Regions from separate parts of the Homo sapiens genome. Here regions 2, 3, 4, 5, 6 and 7 are each linked to region 1. Evidence: promoter capture Hi-C in 16 types of primary human blood cells and fetal thymus (Javierre and others, 2016). All regions are on one chromosome and are shown on one strand. Each heading gives the region's core, a stretch centred on a gene start or on the middle of the fragment in contact. The rest is flanking DNA. Distances are from core to core; before and after follow the strand shown. Region 1 holds the start of SLC10A6 (solute carrier family 10 member 6). Region 2 has its middle 22 kb from the start of PTPN13. Region 3 has its middle 55 kb from the start of MIR4452. Region 4 has its middle 3.8 kb from the start of MIR4452. Region 5 has its middle 75 kb from the start of MIR4452. Region 6 has its middle 19 kb from the start of MIR4452. Region 7 has its middle 37 kb from the start of MIR4452.

What was found. The method cuts DNA at HindIII sites, captures the fragments that hold promoters and counts their contacts. A CHiCAGO score of 5 or more calls a contact.
Region 2: a fragment that was not itself captured here is called in contact with the fragment with the promoter of SLC10A6 in region 1 in 1 of 17 cell types (megakaryocytes); the score reaches 6.9 in megakaryocytes.
Region 3: a contact is called between a fragment that was not itself captured here and the fragment with the promoter of SLC10A6 in region 1, in 3 of 17 cell types (M0 macrophages, M1 macrophages and M2 macrophages). The highest score is 6.4, in M0 macrophages.
Region 4: a fragment that was not itself captured here is called in contact with the fragment with the promoter of SLC10A6 in region 1 in 1 of 17 cell types (megakaryocytes); the score reaches 6.5 in megakaryocytes.
Region 5: a fragment that was not itself captured here is called in contact with the fragment with the promoter of SLC10A6 in region 1 in 2 of 17 cell types (M0 macrophages and megakaryocytes); the score reaches 5.6 in M0 macrophages.
Region 6: a fragment that was not itself captured here is called in contact with the fragment with the promoter of SLC10A6 in region 1 in 6 of 17 cell types (megakaryocytes, M0 macrophages, M1 macrophages and 3 more); the score reaches 10.3 in megakaryocytes.
Region 7: a fragment that was not itself captured here is called in contact with the fragment with the promoter of SLC10A6 in region 1 in 12 of 17 cell types (megakaryocytes, M2 macrophages, M1 macrophages and 9 more); the score reaches 12.2 in megakaryocytes.

The regions. Positions count from the first base shown.
Region 1 is chr4:86,848,071-86,851,490 of GRCh38, forward strand. It overlaps SLC10A6 (solute carrier family 10 member 6), which reads right to left and starts at 1,314. Exons shown (of 6, transcript NM_197965.3): 1 at 669-1,314. The coding sequence starts at 1,045. The HindIII fragment of the contact is 4,581 bases long and covers 385-3,420 here.
Region 2 is chr4:86,570,672-86,574,096 of GRCh38, forward strand. It overlaps a transcript of MAPK10 not described here. Among named protein-coding and RNA genes, the nearest start is that of PTPN13, 22 kb to the right of the region's middle. The HindIII fragment of the contact is 1,316 bases long and covers 1,212-2,527 here.
Region 3 is chr4:86,485,584-86,488,979 of GRCh38, forward strand. It overlaps a transcript of MAPK10 not described here. Among named protein-coding and RNA genes, the nearest start is that of MIR4452, 55 kb to the right of the region's middle. The HindIII fragment of the contact is 5,937 bases long and covers 1-3,396 here.
Region 4 is chr4:86,544,472-86,548,190 of GRCh38, forward strand. It overlaps a transcript of MAPK10 not described here. Among named protein-coding and RNA genes, the nearest start is that of MIR4452, 3.8 kb to the left of the region's middle. RefSeq lists an enhancer at 2,895-3,395. The HindIII fragment of the contact is 4,379 bases long and covers 255-3,719 here.
Region 5 is chr4:86,466,052-86,469,588 of GRCh38, forward strand. It overlaps a transcript of MAPK10 not described here. Among named protein-coding and RNA genes, the nearest start is that of MIR4452, 75 kb to the right of the region's middle. The HindIII fragment of the contact is 2,395 bases long and covers 852-3,246 here.
Region 6 is chr4:86,521,821-86,525,468 of GRCh38, forward strand. It overlaps a transcript of MAPK10 not described here. Among named protein-coding and RNA genes, the nearest start is that of MIR4452, 19 kb to the right of the region's middle. The HindIII fragment of the contact is 3,208 bases long and covers 525-3,648 here.
Region 7 is chr4:86,503,412-86,507,090 of GRCh38, forward strand. It overlaps a transcript of MAPK10 not described here. Among named protein-coding and RNA genes, the nearest start is that of MIR4452, 37 kb to the right of the region's middle. The HindIII fragment of the contact is 5,090 bases long and covers 1-3,679 here.

The sequences.
Region 1 (3,420 bases), core at 64-2,563:
TTGGGAATAAGGTCACTGGCTTAAAGGGAAGGAATGCGAATCTAGTGATGATGTTAACGATCTGCAAAGCAACAAGAAAGAACAATTTTAGTCCTGAGAGCCTTCGCATTGCTCCTGAAGTCAAATCGACAAGCCATCTCAGCACTTAAAGCTGGATATGGCCACCAGACACCCCTAAAGCTCCTTTATCCAGTCCTCTAAAGTGCTTCTTTCCTAAAGTAGGTGCTCAGGCATCACTGACTGGAGCTACGGGAGTCTCATTCTGACTATGCCACTGACACAACCACGACGGCTGCTACCAAACCACAATCGTTAGCTTCTTGGGATTCTTGGTTTAAGTCCTAGGAGTTGCTAAAGAGGCCAGTGTAGGTAAGAATGAGCTCAAGCTTAGGAAGGGCCACTGGGTGAGGTGCAGACCTGCCTCCACTGCTCAGAACGCATCCCACTGCTCAGAACAGTAGCCAATAAAGAAAATGATCATCAGCAAAGTAACTTTTGAGCACTGAAAGGAAAGCCCACCCATGGCTGAACAAGTCTCTGTGATATTTGTAACATTTCCCACTAGAATCTCTACCAAAAGATTAGAAGAGTGTTTAACACAAGAGTTTCAGTTATTCCCCCTAGGCAGGATAAGAGACAGACTGCTGAGCTTCCCTGGGGTTACTTACCTGAGATCCATATCTCCATCAACCCAGAAGGTGAAAATGTTAGAGATGGTGCCCCCCGGGCAGCAGCCCATGATGAGAACAGCAATAGCTTGGACTGGCTTCAGAGAAAAGCTAATGGCCAGGAGATAAGCTGTAAAAGGCATGAGCCCAAACTGGCAGAGCAGTCCCACAGCAATGCCCCAGGGTCTCCTGATGTGCGACCACAGCTTCCGGATCTCCACGGAACATCCCAAAGAGAACATGAGCAGCCCCATCATCACAGTGGACACCACTGTGAAAACGAGCTCCAGGTTTCCATGCACCTCCAGTCCCACTGGCAGCTCCTCCTCTGAACTGTTGGCAGGGCAGGCTGAGCTGCTGGAACAATTGGCTCTCATCTCCTCATCTCCTTAAGGCAGCATTACAAATGAACATCGGCAACAATGGCTGGGCAGGTCTATCCTGCCACATTTTGTAATAGTGCAACGAAGTCACACATGGAGAATCATTCCAATAACTGTTGGCCAGCAAGGTGATTCATCCTAATCTGATCAATTTTTTCACAAGTGGCATTATAAAAGTAATTATCACAGGCATGAAACATATAATAAACTGTGGTAAGTAAGGCTTTCCACTTCTGTTCTTACTCACCACTGAATATGTATGTGAGATGAGACAAACAAACTTGTTGTCAAGTGGAGTGACCGGGCTATGTCGTCAGCATCACATTGTGTCCCTGGAAAGTAGGGTGGATGCCAAGAAATAATTTCTCCAAATTCAGTTGGGATTTCAAAGAGCCAGGATGCACAGACAGAAAAGCTAACTCCGGAAAAAACAACAAAGCCAAAGCCACACCTTGTAGCATTAGCAAAGCGTGTCTGCTGGAAATAGAGCAAAAAGAAAAAAAACGCCGGTGGAGGAAATGTCAGGAGGGACTAAGAATAATTTCAAGGAGCTTCAGAATTTGTCTCAGTTTTTCTTCTAGTTCTATTAGAATTTGTGTCTAAAGTCAATAATTAAACACCTGTGAGAATAATATGGTATTAGGCACCTAATTATGTCTCATGAAACATGTGAAAACTAATTCCTTCACCCAAAATAATTCAAGGGAGCTCTCACTTGCTTTTGGAGATAAGAGTCTACTTTGAGATACATACCCCTGGCCTCCTAGGGACATCTGGGAATCCTGCAAGGGGATGTGGTAAAGAGCTTGGTCTGAAATGGAGATGGGGTCTGAGGACAGCCTCTGACCACAGTGCCCAGGGCCCCTCTGTGCATTCTAAGCAGGCACTGCTGGCAAAACCCAAGGACTGTATGGTTCTGTGAAACTAAACCTCTGAAAAAGCAGGTGCCACACCCCTTCTCACAGCAGAAAGTTTATTTGTGGGGCACAGGCTAGTAACAAGGCACACTTCATAAACGCCTCTACCTGTCTCAAGAGGGATACTAGCTATGCATTGTTTATTCATGGATGAGCAAATTCTTCTCCATGACAGAATGCTCAGGACATGCTGACTGTATAAAAATACAAGTTAGATTCAAATGTGAAGTAAATTCTAACTATTTGAAGAAAGAATAAACTGCCTTTGGCAAACAAACCCTGAAGGCAGCTCTGGCCATCCAGCCTCCCTGGAGGTTGCGTATAAGGGGTCAGTCAGCACAGGGCGTATTTACGCAGAGCCCTGCAGAGAATGGACACTGAGGAACGGGAAAGGTCTCTGGAAGGCAAGGTGTTCCCAGCTTGAATGATGCAGAGGTGTGGTCAGGCTGAGGAGGAAGGGAGGAGGGAGACAGCTAACATTTTCTGAGCACTTCTCAGGGGTGACAGAGGTGGTGATATGGTTTGGCTGTGTTTCCCCCGCACCCAAATCTCATCTTGAATTATAGCTCTTATAATTCCCATGTGTCATGGGAAGAACCTGGTGGAAGGTCATTGAATCATGGGGGCGGGTTTCTCCCGTGCTGTTCTCATGATAGTGAATAAGTCTCTCAAGTTCTGATGGTTTGATAAAGGGGAGTTCCCCTACACACGCTCTTGCCTTTTCTGCCACCATGTAAAACGTGTCTTGCTTCCCCTTCCCCCTCTGCCATGATTGTGAGGCCTCCCCAGCCATGTGGAACTGTGAGTCAATTAAACCTTTTTCCTTTATAAATTACCCAGTCTTGGGTATGTCTTTATTAGCAGCGTAAAAACAGACCAATACAGGTGGCTAGGTGCTTTACACATATGTGGCTATGTCTGGTGAAGCAGAACTTTATTTACTTATTTAGCAAGAGAAGGGGTCAGGGGTGTCTGCCTAGATAATGTCCAAAAGCCCCTTAGTCAACCTTCTTTTTTTTTTTTTTTTTTTTTTTGAGATGGAGTCTCCTACTGTCGCCCAGGCTGGAGTGCAGTGGAGTGGCGCGATCTCGGCTGACTGCAAGCTCTGCCTCCCGGGTTCATGCCATTCTCCTGCCTCAGCCTTCTGAGTAGCTGGGACTACAGGCGACCACCACCATGCCTGGCTAATTTTTTGTATTTTTAGTAGAGACGGGGTTTCAGTGTTAGCCAGGATGGTCTCGATCTCCTGACCTCGTGATCTGCCCGCCTCAGCCTCCCAAAGTGTCAACCTTCTTTGTTCCCAGGAAGAGTCACTTGAATCGCCCTTTTTAGTTATACAAATTTAAGTTTTGTATAAGCACCTCCATTCCTGATAAGGATGGTATAAGCACCCCCATTTCTGATGAGAATGGTGTGACGGGAACTTTTGTGATTGCTGGGTACTCAGTGCTG
Region 2 (3,425 bases), core at 620-3,119, 280 kb before region 1:
CTATAACCTGAGAACTGAAGTTATTATGAAAATAATAACTTGAAGTAAGGAAGAACACCTAAATTAGCTTAGTAGAATGGTTTCAGGAAAGACTTCCTGGAGTAGGTGACATTTAGTCTGAAAAACTAAATAGGAGTTAACGAAACAAGGGGGATGGGCAGAGGAGTCACCAAGAGGTTGGAGGAGGGTCTTTAGTCGCCCATGGCCAGTTTGAGTCTTGAGATAAGCAGATGCCAGGGTGGAATTGAATCTGATTAGTTTCAGTTGTTAATAACTCCTAACTTTATATCTCTACCACAGACTCAGTTCCAGTTATAACCAGCTACCAGACAGCGTTTTTAACCAGCTAAGGGAGGTGGGGTGTGCAGAATTCCCTGCTGAGAAGATGCCATAATCTCTACTCTTCCTATAGACATGGATCCTTCTTTCAGGTTCTATTATCTCTGTGGGCCTGTCCTGTTTATTTTTTAAAGTTGTATTGTTTTATATAAAAGATACTTAATAAAATACTTAGGGTTTTTTTTTTAGTGATTGGAATCTGTAAAAAATAAAATTAATTTAAAAAAATCTTTGCAATGATATCCAAAATTTAAATATATATATATATATTACTGGATAGATACATGTATATATATATTTACTGGATATATATATACGTGTGTGTGTGTGTGTGTGTGTGTGTGTGTATCTCCAGTAAAAGATAGTGAATAGAACACCTATATGAGCTTATCAATTCTCCTTTCCAAACATCACAAAAATGATGGCAGGAAATAAACTTTTAAAAATTTAGAACCTTAAATAAAAGGAAAACTAGAGATAAAATAACAACAGTGAGAACTGTCAAAAATAGGTTAAAAACCGGAAAGCATATGATCAAGTAACAATTGACTTCTTAGCTGAACAGAGGAAGTTAAAAGTTAAGTACCTGTAGCTGGGAAAGTCAAGAAGCAAACTAATTCATTCCTGAAAAGGAATGAATGGAGCTTTCCTTCCTAGAGAAATCAAGGAGAGAAAAGACCTCATACTAAAAACTGGTGGGCTGCCAAAGATACGGTTGGCTATCTCCTGACAACCTTACACTGAAGCCCAATAATTGAATTTACTTGTCTATGGTAAATGTATGTGTAATTTATTTGGGGTCAGCTACATTATGTAACGAGCCCCTTGTTCAAAAAGCAGAAAAAAGGTGTCATTAAAAATATAAAATATAAAGCTTTTTCCTTTCTTCCTTGGTCTTTTTTTCAGTTTGTCATGGTTTTTTATTTTTTATTTGCTAGTTAAAATTTTTTCTAAGGAAGGAAAAATTTTAAATTATTAGGCTGAATTTTGTCATTCGTCTTTATATTGCATAATGCTAGCTTTAAATGTATATATGTACATTTAACTCCTATGTAGGATCACCAAAATCACACAATTCTTATTTTGTAGTTCATACATGCACATATATTTTGTTCTTACCAGAACAGTGGAAACACTACACAAAATTTACTCAATTTTTTATTTCAAGTCTACCAACACATTCTACCAACACTCTCTACCTTTGACTTATGGCATCATTACTTTCAGCAAAACCAGCTGTGTAATACTAGGAAACAATGGGAATAAGAAAGGATATCATAGGATTCCTTGCTCATTTGTGTTTCTTAGAATGCCATTGTCTTCTTTTTGCATTAGAAACAACTCTAGTTCAAATAAAAAACATAGCCTCAAGAGGTTATCAGTATTTATGTTTACTCAGACTTAGCTGTAACATGTTTACCTTGTGCTAGCTGTGAGTCTCATTAAACTTGTAGGCACCACTGGGTCCCTTGGAATTCTGTGTTCATGGGGTATCTCCAACACTATATGCAAACAGGGCAGAAAGTACTGGCAGACGAATTTCATAGTCCAGTGTTCCAACAGGCCTTACTTATAAAATACAGGTTTCGAGACAAAATTATTAGAATTTCAAGATACTAACAGTGGAATATTAAGCCGAATATGGGACTCTTTTGAGCATGAGGCCCTGTTCAATTGCACAGGTCTCATGCTCATGAACCTGGGTCTGAGTTTATAAGAAAATGCCAAATGGCTGTGCCATATTGCATTCCCACCAGCAACATTTGAAAGTTCCCGCTGATTTGCATCTTTACCAGTAATTGGCAGTGTCAAACTTTTAAAATATAGCCATTCTAGTAGGTATATAATGATATTCATCTTAATTTGCATTTTCCTAATTAATAATTTCGGTGAATATCATGTGTTTATTTGCTATCTGGATATCTTCTTTAGTAAAATATTTGTTTAAATCTTTTGCCCAATTAAAAAAATGAATTGTTTTCTTTAGTTTTGAAAGTTCTTCATATATTCTGGATATAACTTCTTAATCAGATATATCCTTCACAAATATTTTGTCCCAATCTGTGGCTTGTTTTATTTATTTTTTCACTTTTGCAGGAATCTTTTGAAGAGCACAAGGTCTTAATTTTTATAAACTCTAATTTTCCAATTTTTTAATAGTTGATGCTTTTTATGTCTTACCTAAGAAAGCTTTACTATCAAAGGTCACAAAGAATTTCCCCTAGCAATTTATATCGCTTTAGGTTTCACATTTTGATCTATGTACAATTTCAAGTTAATTTCTTTATATGGTGGAGATAGGTTTTAGCTTCAGTTTTCTGCATATGGATGTTCCAGCACCTTTTACTAACAATGTTTTACCTCATGAAATTACTCTCTCATCTTTGTTGGGATCATTTAATTGAATATATGTGGGCATCTTTCTGTACTATCTTTATCTATATAGCTATCCTTACTCCCAATACTACACTGTCTTGAATACTGCAGCTGAATAAGTACTGAAATCAGACAGTGGGAGGCCTTTCTTGTTTTTCTGTTTTAAAATCATTTTGCTTATACGAGGTCCTTTGCATTTCCAAACAAAGTTTAGAATATGCCTATCAATTTCTACTCAAAAAGCTGCTTATATCTTGATTGAAATTGCACAGATTCTATAGATAAATGTGAGATAAATTTACCCATTAAAAAGTCTTTGAATCCATAAACGTGATATGTCTCTCCACTTATTAAGTTTTCTCTCATTTCATTCACCAATGTTTTATAGTTTTCAATATAGAAATTTTCCACATTTTCTTAGATTTATCCCTTATTATTCATCCTTTTTGATGCTATTGTTATATTTTTTAAATGTCAATTTCTAATTGTTTAATTACAAGTATATAGAGAAATGCAATTTTTTAAATTATCATTATACTTTAAGTTTTAGGGTACATGTGCACAATGTGCAGGTTAGTTACATATGTATACAGGTGCCATGCTGCTGTGCTGCACCCATTAACTCGTCATTTAGCAGTAGGTATATCTCCTAATGCTATCCTTCCACCCTCCCTCCACCCCACAACAGTCCCCAGAGTGTGATGTTCCCC
Region 3 (3,396 bases), core at 521-3,020, 360 kb before region 1:
CTTAATGAGTTTCAAAAGAAGTTCCAAGAGCTTCATCAGAGAAAGAATGAGAAAGCTGGAAAGACAGTAGATGGTATAGACTGAACTGTGCCATTGCAAAATTCATTTGTTGAACCCCTCAACTCCATTGACTGTATTTGGAGATAAGGTCTGTAAAGAGATAATTACAGTTACACAGGCCTCAAGGGAAGGGCCTTAATTCAATAGGACTATTGTCCTTATAAGCTGAGAAAAAGACAACAGAGTTCACGCATAGAGAAAAGGCCATGTGAGGACATAGTGAAAGGCAGCCATTTGCAAGCCAGGAAAAGAGGCCTAACCAGAAACCAACCCTCCTGGCACCTTTATTGTGAACTTCCAGCCGCCTGAGAAGTGAAAAATAAAATTCTGCTATTTAAGCCCTCCAGTCTGTGGTATTCTGTCATGGCAGCCCAGGCCAACTAATATGGTAGGCCATAAATTTTAGATTTGGGGAGATGATGTAGGAGAGGGGAAAACCCTAAAACTGAATAGACACAGTCACAAATTAACTGTATTTTATTAAATAATCACATGGAAAGTTGGGTGTGGTGGTGCCCACCTGTAGTCCCAGCTACTCGGGAGGCTGAGGCAGGAGGATCACTTGAAGCAAGAAGTTTGGATTGTACTGGGCCATTATCACACTTGTGAATAGCCACTGCACTCCAGCCAGGGCAACACAGCAAGACTCAATCTCTAAAACATACATACATACATACACACATGCATAACCACACTGGGGAGTAGAGAAGGATAACTACCATACAGAAGAAAAAGAAAAAGAGAAGCAATGCAAGTAACTTTTGATCACATGATTTTGACAATATACCCACAATCTAGGGAACAAAAGAACTGCAAACAAATCTTGAATTTTTTCTAGTAAGTTTATTTTTCATTGAGATATGGGTATAGCAATTGTGAAACTACTTTATGGGTATCATAATATTGAGAAAATGAATAATGTGATTATGTTCTTGGGTGCCAGGTTCTAAATGACTGTGGAAAAAGAAAGATAAAAATATGGCATGAGGTTAGGCAAAGAAAACTCTGCAACTATCATAATAAAGATTGATTCAGAAAAGAATTATCTTTGGATGCAAAGTCCAGGGGGAAAAGTTAGATGAGGAACAGGATATGTACGCAGTCCCAAAGTGTCTCCCCACAGATTGTTTAGTGGTTGAAAGAGGGAAATAGTAACTATATGGTGGAGAAACCAAACAACATCTTGATGAGGTGATTGAATTAACATCACCAGTGAGGGGCAGACAGACACTATGTGCCTGAAACACAGTACTCTGAGAAGGACAAATCACTGATGTCTTATGCAGCAAGAAAGGCACGATCTGAGCCTAATCATCAAGAAACATCAGACAAACCCAAAGTGATGAACATTCTGTCACATAGCCGTCTTATATTTGAAAATATCAGTGTCATGAAAGATACGGAAAAGCTAAGGAAATCTTCCAGATTTGGGTACTGAAGACATGAGACAGTCGATTGCAATGCAGGATCCTATGCTGGATTCTGTACTGGAAGGGGAAAATGCCATAACAGACATGATTAGGGCAATTTGCAAATTAGATTATGGAGTATGGAGTGGAAAAAGTATTGTTTCAATGTTAAATTTTATAAATTTGACAACTGTATTATGGTAATGTAAGAGGATACCTTTTTTTCTTAGGAAATACACAATAAAGGACTAAGAGGTAAGAGGGAATGATTGCAAGCTATCTAAAATAGTTCATAAAAGAGAGAGAGAGAGTGTGTGTGTGTGTGTGTGTGTAGAGAGAGAAAGAAGGAGTATAATAAAGCAAAGGTAACAAAGTGTCAAAAATTGTTAAATCTGGGCCGGGTGCGGTGGCTCACACCTGTAATCCCAGCACTTTGGGAGGCCGAGGTGAGTGGATCACGAAGTCAGGAGATCAAGACCATCCTGGCTAACACAGTGAAACCCCGTCTCTACTAAAAATACAAAAAAAATTAGCCAGGCATGGTGGCAGGTGCCTGTAGTCCCAGCTACTTGGGAGGCTGAGGCAGGAGAATGGTGTGAACCTGGGAGGCAGAGCTTGCAGTGAGCTGAGATAGTGCCACTGCACTCCAGCCTGGGCAACAGCACGAGACTCTGTCTCAAAAAAAAAAAAAAAAAAATTGTTAAATCTGAATAAAGAGTAAATGGGACTCCCTATCTTTCAACCTTTCTATAAGTTTAAAATTATTTCAAAATACAACTTAAAATAAAATCAAAAGAACAAATAAAAAAGATAAGAGGTGAAGGAGTTCTGAGTGGTGTAAAGTTTTAGGCCTTGATGTTAAGGTAGATTGCACAATAGTCTGAGAGAGAGAGATTATTGTCCTCATTTTACTGAGGAGAAATTGGGACTCAGAGGCCTCAAGGTCTGATGCTACCTAGAGGACAGCAGAGGAGAAGAGAGGAGAGGAGGCCCAGATGGGGAGAGAATGAGGCAAGTTTTTCCCTCAGCTCCACTTGCCGTCTTAATTCAATCCCTTGACAGATTAGCTCACTGAAGGAAAAGCAGCTCCCTCACACCATTCCCCCACCTCCTCCCATATCTGAAATGATGCTCTGCTCAGATCATTAATCATCTCATTAAGGCTCTAGCAAGCACAATTCAGTAATATTGGCCACAGACATTATCCTTTTATTCTCTCGACACAGCTGATGAAAAAGAACCTATTGTAAGATGTCCCCGGTTTTTCACAACAGTAAGGGAAATGATACCTTTTCATCAATGTATAGTTCCAGCTTCAATAAGCATTGTTCCTGGTTTCCTCAAGCCCCTTGTGCAAAGTTTTATGAGTTGGATAATATCCCCTTACCCAATTTTCCCATCCAGATATTGGGAGGGTAATATCAGAACTAGATTACTGGATTGAGTTGAAATAATATTTAAGGCTGTCTTGGGCAACATTTTAAAATTTTCTTATGATATGTATCCTCTAATCACCCACACTCCTTTCTTCTATTAGTTTTTCCCTTTCCCAGTGATTTTTGATGCTAACTGTGGTTTCTGAATCTGCCTGTAGATACCTCCAGAGTTCTTTGCACTACACAATGGCACAGAGACCATGTTAGGACAGTCCCAGAAAGGCTCCGAAGTAGACAAAGATGATCGGTACTGCCCACCCTTCCCCATTTCTGCACCTCTCTCTTCCATCATCTTCAAACTGCAGTCCTCACCTCAGCCTAGAATCCTAGAGTAAGTGGTAAAAATAACCTCAGATTCTTTCCTTCCCTGTGGCAGTGTAGCTCCTCCCATCAAGAGATACCTTTTGAATCTGGGTTTGGCCACAGGACCGGCCAAATGTGACATTAGCAAAGATGCAGCAGAGGCTTGAAAAGTGTTTGCGCATTCGGGC
Region 4 (3,719 bases), core at 1,194-3,693, 300 kb before region 1:
ATAGTCATTTCTCTCTCTTTCTTGTCAGTTGCTTCAAGTCACAAATGCAGTTTCAATTCAACAAATCAAAGTGTCACCTGTTTACAAACTCCACTTTCAAATCTTTCACCAAAATCGGTGAGCAATACATGCTAATAAACAGAGAAAATAAAAAAACTAGAGTCACTTTGAGAGAAGTATAGTTTAGTGATTACAGAAAATATCATTTATATTTTGTTGCCAATGTGGATTTCTGTTAGTTTGTCTATCTGATAAGCTTCAGGGACAATAGTTGTATTGAATATTGAAAGGAAGTTGTTATGATCAGATTGCTTCCTGTGGTGAACAAAAGGCTTTTGCTGACATAGCAGCTTCATGGTTGCACACACAGCCCATAATATCCTTGTCTTTCAAACTGAAAGGTTTTTTTCTTTTTTTTTTTTTCACTATTTCAACAGGAAACAAAATCTTCAGACTTGCTTCCAAAGGAGAAGTTTGAAATGGAAGGGAGAAAGAGAGGAAGGGAGGGACGGCAAGAAGGAAAGAAGAGAGGAAGGAAGAAAGCAATGGCATGGCCATGTTTCTGTGTTGTTTTTTCCTACTACAAAATATTAAGATATTGGATAATAAAGGAGCCAAATAGTGTCACATGGCTCACGTGTGTATCAACAAGGCCCATGTGTGTATCAACATAAGGCTAAGAACACATGACAAGGCATGGATGGCCAAGGAGTCAGGATTTTGAAATGAGTGCAAGGACTTGTTTACATGAAAATGTTCAAAGGTAAAATCAATGTATCAGGTTAAAGGGTTGAGTCTGAAGAATGAGCGCATGAAAAAATGTGATACTTTCTCTTTTTTGTCATTGCTTTCTTTCCCCTCATCCGTGGCGGGGAGAGGATCTTTGGTAAGACAGAATAAAGACGGCATTTTAGTGAGGATGGGGGAAGCCTGAGGCAGGTGTGCTCTCTTCTGAGAACTTTCTCAAAAATCCACACCATTTCCATGGTGGTGAAGGCCGTGACGAAAAGACCTCAGAAGAATTACTAAAATAGCTTCTGAGGTTGCTTTCCAATGGCACAATGCAGGAAATGGAAAAGGGGCATGTATTGATAGCATTGTGTGTAAATGAACAATATACATGTGTATTGTATTTTTCATGGTGGGCAAATGGTGGGACATCGGGGAGAGGGGCTGAGAGAAGTCCAGGAAGCAGCATAAAGATCTTAATGGACAGGAAGGAGAAGAGAGGTGTTAATGGAAAGAAGGAATACATTTTAGCACTTCAAATACTGGTGTAGCTTCAACTCTGACCAGGGACATTTTGTCTTAGTGCCTAAATATATCCAAGTGGAATAAGCACGAATCTCACATTTTAAAAAATTAGCCATGCATTACACATACGTATCATTCTTCCTGATATTGTTAAAGCAAACCACTGCAACAACATTGGCTACAGAATTTTGAGGGCTCAGTCCAAAATAAAAATGCAGGGCTCCTTGTTCAAAAATTACTAAGGGCCAGGTGCGGTGGCTCACGCCTGTAATCCCAGCACTTTGGGAGGCCGAGGCGGGCGGACTGCCTGAGCTCAGGAGTTCAAGACCAGCCTGGGCAACAAAAAATTTAGCCGGGTGTGGTGTTGGGTGCCTATAGTCCCAGCTACTTGGGAGGCTGAGGCAGAAGAATCTATTGAACCTGGGAGGCAGAGGCTGCAGTAAGCCGAGATGGCGCCATTGCACTCCAGTCTGGACAACAGAGCGAGACTCTTGTCTCCAAAAATAAAAAATAAAAAATTACTAAGAATTTCAAGATGGCGGCTGGGTGCGGTGGCTCACGCCTGTAATCCCAGCAATTTAGGAGGCTGAGACGGGCAGATCACCTGAGGTTAGGAGTTCGAGACAAGCCTGGCCAACATGGCAAAACCCTGTCTCTACTAAAAATACAAAAAAAAAAAAAATTAGCCGGACATGGTGGCGTGAGCCTGTAATCCCAACTACTCAGGAGGCTGAGGCAGGAGAATTGCTTGAACCTGGGAAGCGGAGGTTGCAGTGAGACGAGATCGCGCTACTGCACTCCAGCCTGGGGGACAAGAGCGAAACTCCTTCTAAAAAAAAAAAAAAAAGAAGAAAGAATTTCAAGGTGGCAAAAATGGCATTAAACCAAGCAAGGGGCCCTTCTGAGTATAGGTCCTATGTGACTGCACAAGTCATATGCCCATGAGGCCAGCCCTACTCCAAAATTAAGACCAGATTTGAATGGGTTCCATGCAGTGCTTGGAGGGGAAAATCCCAGATGTAAACTCTCACTGTAAAAGTTCAAAAGGGGCTGGGCGGGGTGGCTCATGCCTGTTAATCCCAGCACTTTGGGAGGCCGAGGCGGGTGGATCACGAGGTCAGGAGATCTAGACCATCCTGGCTAACACAGTGAAACCCCATCTCTACTAAATATACAAAAAATTAGCTGGGCGTGGTGGCGGGCACCTGTAGTCCCAGTTACTCGGGAGGCTGAGGCAGGAGAACCGTGTGAACCCGGAAGGTGGAGCTTGCAGCCGAGATTGCGCCACTGCACTCCAGCCTGGGCGACAGAGCGAGACTCCGTCTAAAAACAAACAAAAAAAAAGTGCTAAAGGGAAAGGCTGATTATTGGAGTCAGAAGACTAGTTATCCTCTGCTTTTCTATGAGTGATAGTGAGAGGTGACAGCTTGCTGGCAGTTCTCACAGCCCTCGCTTCCTCTCGGCGCCTCCCCTGCCTGGGTTCCCACTTTGGCGGCACCTGAGGAGCCCTTCAGCCCGCCCTGCACTGTGGGATCCCCTTTCTGGGCTGGCCAAGGCCGGAGCCGGCTCCCTCAGCTTGCCAGGAGGTGTGGAGGGAGAGGCGCTGGGGGGAACCAGGACTGCGCGAGTTCCGGGTGGGCGTGGGCTCTGCGGACCCGCACTCCCAGCAGTCGGCCGGCCCCACCGCCCGGGGCAGTGAGGGGTTTAGCACCTGGGCCAGCAACTGCTGTGCTCAAAATTTCTCGCCGGGCCTTAGTTGCCTTCCCGCAGGGCAGGGCTCAGGACCTGCAGCCCGCCATGCCTGAGCCTCCCCCGCGCTCCCTGGGCTCCTGTGCCGCGGAGCCTCCCCTAAGAGCGCCGCCCCCTGCTCCACAGCACCCAGTCCCATTGACCACCCAAGGGCTGAGGAATGCCGGCGGCAGGCAGGGAGCTCCACCTGCAGCCTCCATTCAGGATCCACTGGGTGAAGCCAGCTGGGCTCCTGAGTCTAGTGGGGATGTGGAGAACCTTTATATCTAGCTAAGGGATTGTAAATACACCAATCAGCACTCTGTATCTAGCTCAAGGTTTGTAAACACACCAATCAGCACCCTGTGTCTAGCTCAGGGTTTGTGAATGCACCAATCGACACTCTGTATTTAGCTACTCTGGTGGGGCCTTAGAGAACCTTTATGTCTAGCTCAGGGATTGTAAACGCACCAATCAGCGCCCTGTCAAAACAGACCACTCGGCTCTACCAATCAGCAGGATGTGGGTGGAGCCAGACAAGAGAATAAAAGCAGGCTGCCTGATCCAGCAGTGGCAACCCGCTCAGGTCCCCTTCCACACTGTGGAATCTTGGTTCTTTCACTCTTTGCAATAAATCTTGCTGCTGCTCACTGCTTGGGTCCACACTGCTTTTATGAGCTGTAACACTCACCGCGAAGGTCTGCAGCTTCACTCCTGAAGCCAGCGAGACCACGAAC
Region 5 (3,537 bases), core at 799-3,298, 380 kb before region 1:
CTGGCAATAATGCCTGGATGTAATCACTTTATGACAGTTACACATGCTTTCTGGTCTCAGTATTTACCATAATAAATCTACTCCTATAATTGAGGCATACCGCCCTCAAAAACTTATTTGTAAACAGGATTGGACCCAGTTAGAAATAATGAATGTACTTGTTTGGGAAGATTGAATTGCAGAACAGGCAGAGGTGCTGTGCAACGATTCCTATGGAATCATTATTGATTGGTCCCCTAAGGGGACATTTAGCTTAAATAGCACCTCTCAGTCTGCATGCCACGGCCACACTATGTTCAGCTGGTCTGAACAAAATGGTCAGATGGTAGAAATGGTAGGAAGTACAGCAAGAGTTCCTATTATCTGGAAACATAGCAGTATAGTGACACCTCAACCTCAAATGATATGGCCCGTTGTAGGCCACATGCTATATTTCTGTGTGTGTGTCTTTAATTTCTCTAGTGCCACTGGGTTAGGGTCTCCACAACCGAGCTTGTCTTGGCAGTGTAATTGATTAACTAAAAAAATAATAAAATTAGATCTCTATCTCATACCATACCCAAATATAGATTCCAGATAGGTCAAAAATACAAATGTAAAAATCAAGTCTTTCACAGAACATGTAGGAGAATCTTTTTTATGGCATTTGGTTAGGGAATTATTTCTTAAGCACAGCATGAAAAGCACACAGAACAAAAGAGGGTTTGGGACACCTAGTGTGGTTGATTGTACCCCTGTGAAAATATTTGCTGCCCCTCCCTCCCAGGCTAACCTGCGGGAGATTATATGCCCTCAGCCAAGGTCACTTGCTTCAGCAACAAAATGTGACTATAATGTGATATTGAAACAGAAGCTTTAAAAGCCCTCCTGTGGGTCTGTTGTCTCTCTTTTCTGTCACAAGACCACCATGTCCAAGATATGTGCTGCATCTTCAGCTGCAGTCCCTGGAGTGAAGATGATGTGGAACAGAGCCTGTCAACCCATGTGAATGTGAACAAGAAAATATGTCAGTTGCAGCAAACTCTGAAATTTGGGAGTTTTATGACCCTGGCGTGATTCAGCTTAAGTTGACTGAGATGATGGCTACATTCAAATTGTTAACCAAAAATTATAGAAGGCCACTGTATTGAAGCGGGCCTCACAGTAGGCCCCAACAGACCAAACCAAATCAGAATGGAGTCATTTGTGCCAAGTGTCGCATAATCAAATTGAATTCTTAAATTGTCCAGTTTTCACCAAAAACAAGAGATTCACAGCAACCAGTTAAAAGTGGTTGACTTTGCAGAGAAAGATAAGGAAATAAAATAGGTTGAGGGGTTTCACTGTGTCTACAGTGTATATTTCTTTTAAAAATGTTTTTGAAGCAAAAATGGCCAAAGCAATCTTGACATTTCTTAAATCAGGTGATGTATAGAGACAATGTTGTATTTACCTGAGCCCTGTTATCCTGGAAAACAGCATTTTTGTTTGTTTGTTTGTTTGTTTTTGAGACGGAGTTTCGCTCTGTCACCAGGCTGGAGTGGAGTGGCGCAATCTTGGCTCACTGCAACCTCCGCCTCCCGGGTTCAAGCGATTCTCCTGCCTCAGCCTCCTGAGTAGCTGGGATTACAGGCATGTGCCACCATGCCCAGCTAATTTTTGTATTTTTAATAGAGACAGGGTTTCACCACGTTGGCCAGGATGGTCTCGATCTCTTGACCTCGTGATCCGCGCACCTCGGCCTCCCAAAGTGCGGGAATGGCAGGCGTGAGCCACGGCACCCAGCCTACCATTGTTTAAAGAAGTCCCCAATACCAACCCTTTTGTGTTCCAGAAACTGGCTTACTGAAAAAAACCAAGAGTCCCCATATAAATTAGAGAAGACTCATAGATGTGCCCCTTGCTTACCTTGCAACGAGGCCAGATACAGACATTCTAAATTCCCATTCTTTGCCTCATAAATGATTAGCTGAACTGCTTGCCCCGCCGGTCGGCCAGAACAAAATGCTTGCTAACCAGAAACTTTGCTTTAGCTTCTCTCCTTTTCCCAGGTCCCTGAATTTTGGTCAGCCTACAACTCCTCCTTAAACCCTCCTGAGAATAGGCTGGCTCCAAGGTAAAACATTCTCTAACCTACTATCTGATATTGCTACGCTTTCATCCTGCTTCCCCATACCTGGTTGTTGCTAGCCTTGCTACTTCTCTCTGTAAAAGAAAATCCTTTTTTTGCCTACCTCTTGAGATGCTTGCATATATTATGGTCAAAACATTCTCCCTATTGCAAGAGTCCCCCTCCCCCTATTGCAATAGTCCCTTTGACCACTTCGCAATAATCCTTTCAAATAATGGCTCTCCTTACTAAGTCTGGGTTTTTTATTTGACAATAGGGGTATAGGCATACTTTTATGCATTTTGAATTATTTTATAATATGAACCAGATTTTGAAGAGCTTATTAAATAGAAAAATAGTCATTTCTAAAAGGTGAAACAGAATAGTTTTTTCAAAATGTCCTGATGATATAAGTGTGAAAATAACAAAGCAGTTGGGCATGGTGGCTCACACCTGTAATCCCAGCACTTTGGAAGGCCCAGGCGGGTGGATCACTTGAGGTCAGGAGTTTGGGATCAGCCTGGTCAACATGGTGATACCCCATCTCTACTAAAAATACAAAAATTAGCCAGGCGTGGTGGCATGCACCTGTAGTCCCAGCTCCTCTGGAGGCTGAGGCAGGAGAATTGCTTGAACCCAGGAGGCAGAGGTTGCAGTGAGCCAAGATCATGCCACTGCACTCCAGCCTGGGTGACAGAGTGAGACTCCATCTCAAAAAAAAAGAAAAGAAAAAGAAGGAAAATAACAAAGCAACAGAACTCAACTCATAGCAACTGTGTAGTAGAGGTAGGATTAGAATTCCCAATTGACCAGGCTGGTCAGGGGATTCATAAGAAATACAAATGAAGAAAGTGGGAATGTTAAATCTGGGAAAGCAAAGACTCAGAGGGGCAGAGAAGCTGCCTTCAGATATATGAAGGCTTGTTATGTGGCTTGTTATGAAGGCTTGTTATGTGGGAAATGGCATAGAAGGTTTCCACATGTTGCCATTAGAATTGTGATCAATTCTAGCTACTTGGGAAGCTGAGGTGGTTGTCCCCTTGAGCCTTGAGCCCTATGATCGCACCACTGCACTCCAGCCTGGGTGACAAAGCAAGTTTTTTGTCTCAAAAAAACAAAACAAAACAGAACAAAAAGAATTGTGATCAATAAATGGAAGCTTCAGAAGGCTTCAGCAGAATCTAATGAAGAATATCTAAGTTGTCCAAAGGTGGAATGGGCTACCTTGCAAGTCTGGAGTTCCTCCCCAGTACCAGTGCCCAGACATTATCTGTATGCACACTAAGAACAAGAGTATTGGGCAGGTTGTTGGACCAGGAAACCAGACAGCTCCTGGATTCTATGGTTCTGTCTAGTAGATAATGCAGAAAACACTTGAATGAACTTTAAGAACCAGGCAATCACTCACTGCCAAGATTTTCCAATTGCCAATACTTTCCAATTTCATC
Region 6 (3,648 bases), core at 879-3,378, 330 kb before region 1:
CACCATCCCCCTACCACCACCAATTGTGGTCAGGAAAATTTGTGCTCAGTTGAAATTATTACAAAGTTCAGCTGGGAGCTTCCTTCACCCTGTGGTCCCTCCCCAGTTCTGCTGGCTGCCTTCCCTTCCCCAAGGACCTCTGTGAGATTAGGCCAGGAATGGCTTCCCTGGGTTGAGCTGGGGACTGGGAGTGCCTACAGGGCTCTTCACACTGCTTCTTCTACTTTTATATTTCACCTGGGTCCCTAAATCCATTTCAGCTCTAGGTAAGGTTAACTCCTTTTCCCATGATCTAGATTTTCAGGTTCCCCAGTGGGGTGTGTGTTCAGAGTCTGACTTATCCCTCTATCACACTTTGGAAACTCAGTTTTTTGGCTGTCTTGTGGCATTTTTCTCATTATGTGTTTTGATGGCAATTAAAGAGTCACTCCTTGAAAGTAGGTGTCAAGAATGATGGGTTTGTACTTCCCAGAAAGCCCAGACATGTAAAACATAATACTGTTTGCCTATTAGGCTCTAGTATAAGCTTGTTAAATGAATGATGAAACGAGGTTGGAGCTAGAATATGAACTACCTTAATTTTCATGTTCAAGAGTTGGTAGTTTATTTGGCAGGGCAGATAAATTAAATGAGATGATACGTTTAACACAGTTCCTATTGATACATTTTAGCTTTTATGATTAATAGTGCATTTCAATTCTATCCCGCTTCATAACCAGAAGATGGAGCTCCAAACATTTAAACTTAAAAAAAAAAATTCTCCTGTTTTGTTGTATTCTTGGTAGAGGCTGTGCTCTTATTTCGTTGGTTCTGGTTCTTTTTGTTCCCCACCTAAATCCTTCCATTCTAATTTTGTTCTCAGGTTATCAAAATCCATTTGCTGACTACAGATAGGAGGAGTGATCTGTGTGAGAAGCTACACATAGATCCTCTTTTTCTACCTCTGGGGACTTATTTGATTCATGCACCTGTTCATACATATTTTTATCCAACTCTCCCCACTTTGTTCCTCCCTCTTCACATGGAAAAGCCATTGTGACTTACAGTTGTTACAGCAACTGTAAACAGGTGCTGACATTCTATGCATCCTCATGGGAGGAAAAATGCCAGCACTACCACACACAGAATTTGTTGCTATATGCAGGAAAAAGCATGTGACAGGGCTAGAAATACATTTTTTTGGACTGTTCTCCAGTTTGTGTCCTTTTGCAACATAAGTTCCTTAGACATCTAAAGACTCATGGGAAATAATTAATTTCTAATTTTTCATATCATTCATTCTACTACACTTATATTGATATTATTAATACCTTTATTATTATTACCTTTATGTTTATTAATAGGTATATCTCTAGCTATTTATTCAATATTCACTCTTTCATTCACTTTTTTTCAATAAATATTTATTGAGCAGCACAGCAGCATTACAGGAGGGTTATGGATTTGTGGAACACACTGACCCCCATCCCCAATCCCTGCCATACACATATCCTCCTACTATAAGTCTTTAATAGAGCTATCCAAGAATACATCTGGCTACAAATACCTGGCTAAGAGTTCCAGGAGTGCTTTAAGCAGGAGCAACAGCACTGCCTATTCAAATTTATCTCTTGCCCTTTATTCCCCATACCAAAGGCAAAACCATCAGAGATTCTGGTAAGTTTCCACTGTGGTAAAGTTCTGCAAGAGTTAAGGGGAAATTTTCTTGCTTCATCACTTCTCTGTTATACTCGGATTTACATCACCATTGTGAAATTACACTAATATATACACCACTGTTCAAGGGAACATTTATATACATTTGGCTCTTCCGTTTCTTGATCCAAATTCAGCTTCAGGAGATACATGTCTTCACCCTGGATCAACCACCTGGCATTCCAGCAAAATCTACCCCTACTTTCCAGAGTCCTTTAAAGGCAATCATATGTCTGTATTTACCAAATCTCTCAAAGGCTCTAAATCTATATCTCTAAATATCCGATGGTTATTTCATCTGGCAAATTCAAAAATGTTTACATTGAACTCATTTTCTTTCTCTATCTACGCTTGGCTTAGATGTTTGTCCCCTCCAAACCTCATGTTGGAATCTGATCACCAATGTTGGAGGTGGGGCCTAATGGGAGGTGTTTGGGTCATGGGAGTGGATCCTACATGAACAGATTAATATCCTCCTTCAAGGGTGAGTGAGTTCCCATTCCATTAGTTCCCAAGAGAGCTGGTTGTTAAAAAGAGCCTGCCGCTTTTCCCACCCTTTCTCTTGCTTCCTCTTTTGCAATGTGATCGTTGCACGTACAAGCTCCCCTTCACCTTCCACCATGAAGTAGAAGGAGACTGAGGCTCTCATCATGCAGATGCCCAATCTTGAACTTTACAGCCATCAGAATCATAAGAAAAATAAACCTTTTTCTCTATAAATTACCTAGTGTCAGATATTCTGTTATGGTAACACAAAATTGACCAAGATAATCCCTTTACTCTCTAACTCTCCTCCTAGCTTTCTGGATATCATTTTTATGCAATCACCTACTTAGTAATCTAAATTAAAAATCTTGAAGTAATCACTTGATTTCACTTCTACCTTACCTTCCACATCCAGTCAGCAAGTCCTGTACATTCTACCTCCACAGTGTGCCCTCAATTCAGTTCTTGCACATGTATTTGTCAGAAAGTTTCTTCTCCCACAATAATTTCAGTAGTCTCCTAGTTATCTCCATTGTCTTCCTTCTCAAGTCTTCTAAAGAGTCTACATTAACACCATACTAGGGTTGCCAGGTAAGATACAGGGTTTCCCGTATATTTGTTTGTTAAATCTGGCAGCTTTGCACATATTCATCTTCCTAAACATGTTTCTGGTCATGTAACACTGCCATTTACACTCTCTCTCCCCTTTCTATTACTGAATTAGTTTTTTTTAAGTTGTTGTTGTTGTTCTTGCTTCTGCTGCTGTTGTTTTAGTTTCCTATCCATTAGATAATTAACCCTACATTAGCCTATCACTCAACAAATATTTAAATTAGGTTGGTGCAAAAAAAAAAAAAAGCCCGCAATGACTTTTGCACCAACCTAATATCTGGTACCTGCCATATATGAAACACTCAGGTTTGTGTTGTGGAGTATGCAAAAATAATTTATAGTCTCTATTCTTCAGGCGTTAGCAAGCTGAATAATTATCATTGACATAAAGAAACACAAGCAGTCCAGGCATGATGGCTCATGCCTGTAAACCCAGCACTTTGGGAGGCTGACACGGGCAGATCGCTTGAGCTCGAGTTCGAGACCAGCCTGGGCAACATGGCGAAACCCCGTCTCCACCAAAAATACAAAAAATTAGCCAGGAGTGGTGGTGCCCTCCTGTTGTCCCAACTACTTGGGAGGCTGAGGTGGGAGGGTGGCTGGAGCCCTGGAGGCAGAGGCTGCAGTGAGCCAAGATCATGCCACTGACTCCAGCCTGGGTGACAGAGTGAGACCCCATCTCAATTAAAAAATAAAATAAGAAAAAGAAAACGAAACACAAGCAAATACAGAGTGCTAAAATTCAATTTAGACTAGAGGGATGAGAGTGAGGAGGTTCCCAGGTTTGTATTCACGTTACCTAGATTTTAATTTGACCTAAGGCCAGCGAAAACTTTTTTTAACCCCACCCACACC
Region 7 (3,679 bases), core at 238-2,737, 340 kb before region 1:
TTCTTCCCATCTGTGGGTACCAACTGATAAATTTTCATAAAGTACCACACTGATGGTATCACTTTCCTATAAAACTTTCAAAGGCTCATTATTACCTAACAAATTGAGTGCACACTCCTTAGTAACCTCTCCATTGCAATTCCAAGGGTCAGTTCTCCATCCTCATCTTATTCAACCAATAAGAAGCATTTGAGAATTAATCTGTAGCCTGGATTTCTACAGTTGGTCCCTTGCTTCAACGCTTACCTAATAATCTATTTCACAAACAGCCATGGTAATTATTTTAAAACATTTCAGATTATGTCACTGTTCTGATTTAAATCCTCCAATGGCTTTTTAAAAAATCTCATTTGGGGTAAAATTCAAAGTGCTTATAATGGCCTGCAAGATCCTATATAATATGGCTGGCTATGCACTACCAGACCCCATCATCTACCACAATTAATTATTCATCTCCCTAATCCTACTCTAGCCACACCAGTCTTTTTGCTCTTACCCAAGGACAGCAAACATGCTCCCACCTCTTGGGCTTTGTACGCATTCCACTCTTCTTCCTGAGACCTACAGGGCCCTCCCTAATTCATTCAAATGTCTATACAAATGTCACCATAGTAGAGAGTTCTCTCTCCAATCTATCAAAGTAACATTCCCCCCAGCCTACCCAGATAATCCCTATTATCTGTAACACTTAACATCATTAGAAATATCATAGTTATTTGTGTAATATTTTTTATTGTCTGTCTCTTCTCACTAAAATATAAGCACCCTGAGGGAGGGTCTTAGTTTCTTTTACAACTATTTTCCCAGAGCCTAAAAGAGCATACTGCACTTAATTCAATAAATATTTCTTGAGTGAATGAATAAATGAGTCTCACAGAATGAACCTCTCTACAGAAATCCTATGCTAGCCCAGTGAAATCCAACCTGTGGGCCAAAGATCTGGGAAGTAGTAAAGTAACGTAAAGGGGTCTGTGAATCCACATCCTTCCGATTATTGTCTGTAAACTAAATTAACTACCATATTATACTATTACTTTAAAATGTATTAATTTATAGTAATCTTACCAACATGTATTTTTCCAAAGGATAGTAGCAGTACAGTTTACTATTATGTAGGAACCTACCAATTTTTTCTTATTAACAAGGGGTGTTCTTACTCAAAAACATTAGGAAGCTCACTGCTCTAGCCAAACGAAACCACTGCCTTTTCATCAAGTTGTCTATAAACATTCACACCTGTTCCTTTGCTAATATGTGTATCTTAACTAGCAAAACTTTTTCCTGCCCTCCACTTTCCACCCCATCCTCCAATTGATTTACTGTTTCAAATTCTAAATCATCATTATCTACACCTGAGTGAGCATATGCCTAAGAGCTGGCAATAAGACACATGATGACTGGCTGGGGTGAGGAATGGAAAGGAAGAGCCAGAAGAGGAAAAGAAGTGCTACAAGATTCATGTGCTAGAACTCTCAAGTCCAATTTCACCTGCCTCCCAGTTTGCCTACAGTCCCTCTTTTGGGGGTATTAAGCACATCCAGCAAAGTCTTTCCACCAGCAAAGCCCATCCACTCTGCATCCTCCATAAATACAACACACTAATTCTAGACCCTGCACTATTTTTTCATACTAGTCAAAGTGCTCTGCTCACTGCTTTCTACCAAATAGCAACCATCACATAATTGTTTTGGTTCAACCTTCACCTGTTTCTGGAACTTTTCCCTGGCTAGCCAACAGCACATTCTTATTATTCCTCTATAGTGCTTCAGCAATTTAATACACATTTTTTCAAACAAATTTTCTACTCTTTGATAATTTATTTTTAAGTTTCCTTTCAGCATCATGCAATATGCCCATATAACCTGCCCATGTACCCCCTGAATCTAAAATAAAAGTTTAAATTATTTTTTAAAAATGGGCCAGGCAAGGTGGCTCACACCTATAATCTCAACATTTTGGGAGGCCAAGGCAGGAGGATTGCTTGAGCCCAGGAGCTCAAGACCAACCTGGGCAACATAGAGAGACCTCATCTCTACTAAAAATTTGTGGTGGCATGCATCTGTAATCCCAGCTTATCAGGAGGCTGAGGTGGTGTTTGAGCCTAGTTCAAGGCTGTAATGAGCTATGATCACACCACCACACTTCAGCCTGGGCAACAGAGTGAGACCCTGTTTTTAAAAAAAAAAGTTTCCTTTTTTCATTTATTCTCTTAAATGTGAACTCCTGCGAAGACATGAGAGCCTCAGATATTTCTTTTCTTTTATAGGTGTCTTTCCATTATACAATAATGCCTAGTACTAGACTAGGAACAGAAGAGATAAAGAAAGATATCCTATGAAGGCACTGAATTAGCCTTTAGCTGGATTCACAAACCTATAGGCCAATTTAAATTGTACTCATTTTCAAATTTCTTTAGGTCATGAACTAGCCTACTTATTGCGTCAATATCTATAAATTACTTCCCCAATTCTGTCCTTTCTAAAGTGTATATGCTCTGTCCTCTAGCAGATGATCTTGTTCCTGAACTTCAATCCAATGAGCTCTCATTGAACTCCTTAATGTAAAACATGAGCTAGGCAATATAGAGACATACTCCTTGCCCTAAAGGAATTCATAATAATTCCTTAAAGAAAACATTTTTAAAGCACCTGGTATGTGTTAGGCACCCAAGAACTATTCTATACAGCACAGAAAATGAGATATTCACACCTATAAACAAAAGACAGCGTATTACATTCCAAAAGAAAGGCAGTCGGTCATATGAAAATCCAGGAAGGGAAAAATTAATTCTGAACATAATACCAAGGAATCTTTTATTGAGGAACTGTCCTCTGAATAGGACCATTAAGGAGAAGAATTTTCATGAGAAAATGAGTGAGGGATATGCTAGAAAGGCAGTTGTTTCTGAATCTAATGGTCAAAAATATGGGTTTTGAAAGTCAGAGGGTCTTGGTTCAAATTGTATTTTTGTCACTTACTTGATGAACATCCCCAAGTAGCTTATTTAACTTCAACTGTGGTTTCTTCATTTACAAAATGGAGATAATGTGATTACACACTGCATAAAAACAGACTCTTAGCTGCTGCCTGGCACAGAGTAAGTGCTGACTAAAAGATAGCACTTAGTTTGTGTTCCCCCAGAAGAAGACCATGACTCAAAGATCCAACTACAAATAGTTTATTTGAAAGGGGGCCACAGGAATCACTGATAGGAAGGGGAGGAAGGGAGTCAAGGAAGGGAAGGCAGCACACAAAGTGTGTATTATTAAGTAAATTACCACTACTGGAGCCTAATCTAGCTGGAAACTCCAGGAGCCAGTGTCGACTCAAAGGTCAAGAGGAGCAGAGAATTAAAAACCAACCACAACAATCAAGGTCAGAACTGCTCCCAGACTGAGGAGCAGAAATTCCTCTTCTCCAGCAGAGGAGAAAGCTGTCAGGGAAAGACACACAGATACAGTTAAGGCAGCTGTGCTAAGTGGTAAGCCTCAAGGGGATTTGGGTAAGGCTCTGCCCACACTAATACAATATACATAAAAATATGAGTATATATATGCTTGAGGCTATAAGGAATATGTATCAGAAATTTATCTAATTGATGTATTAGTTAAAAATAAAACATATATGATAAACAATATTCCAGGCAAAGTTTTTAGAAGATGCAATAATCCAGAAAAAA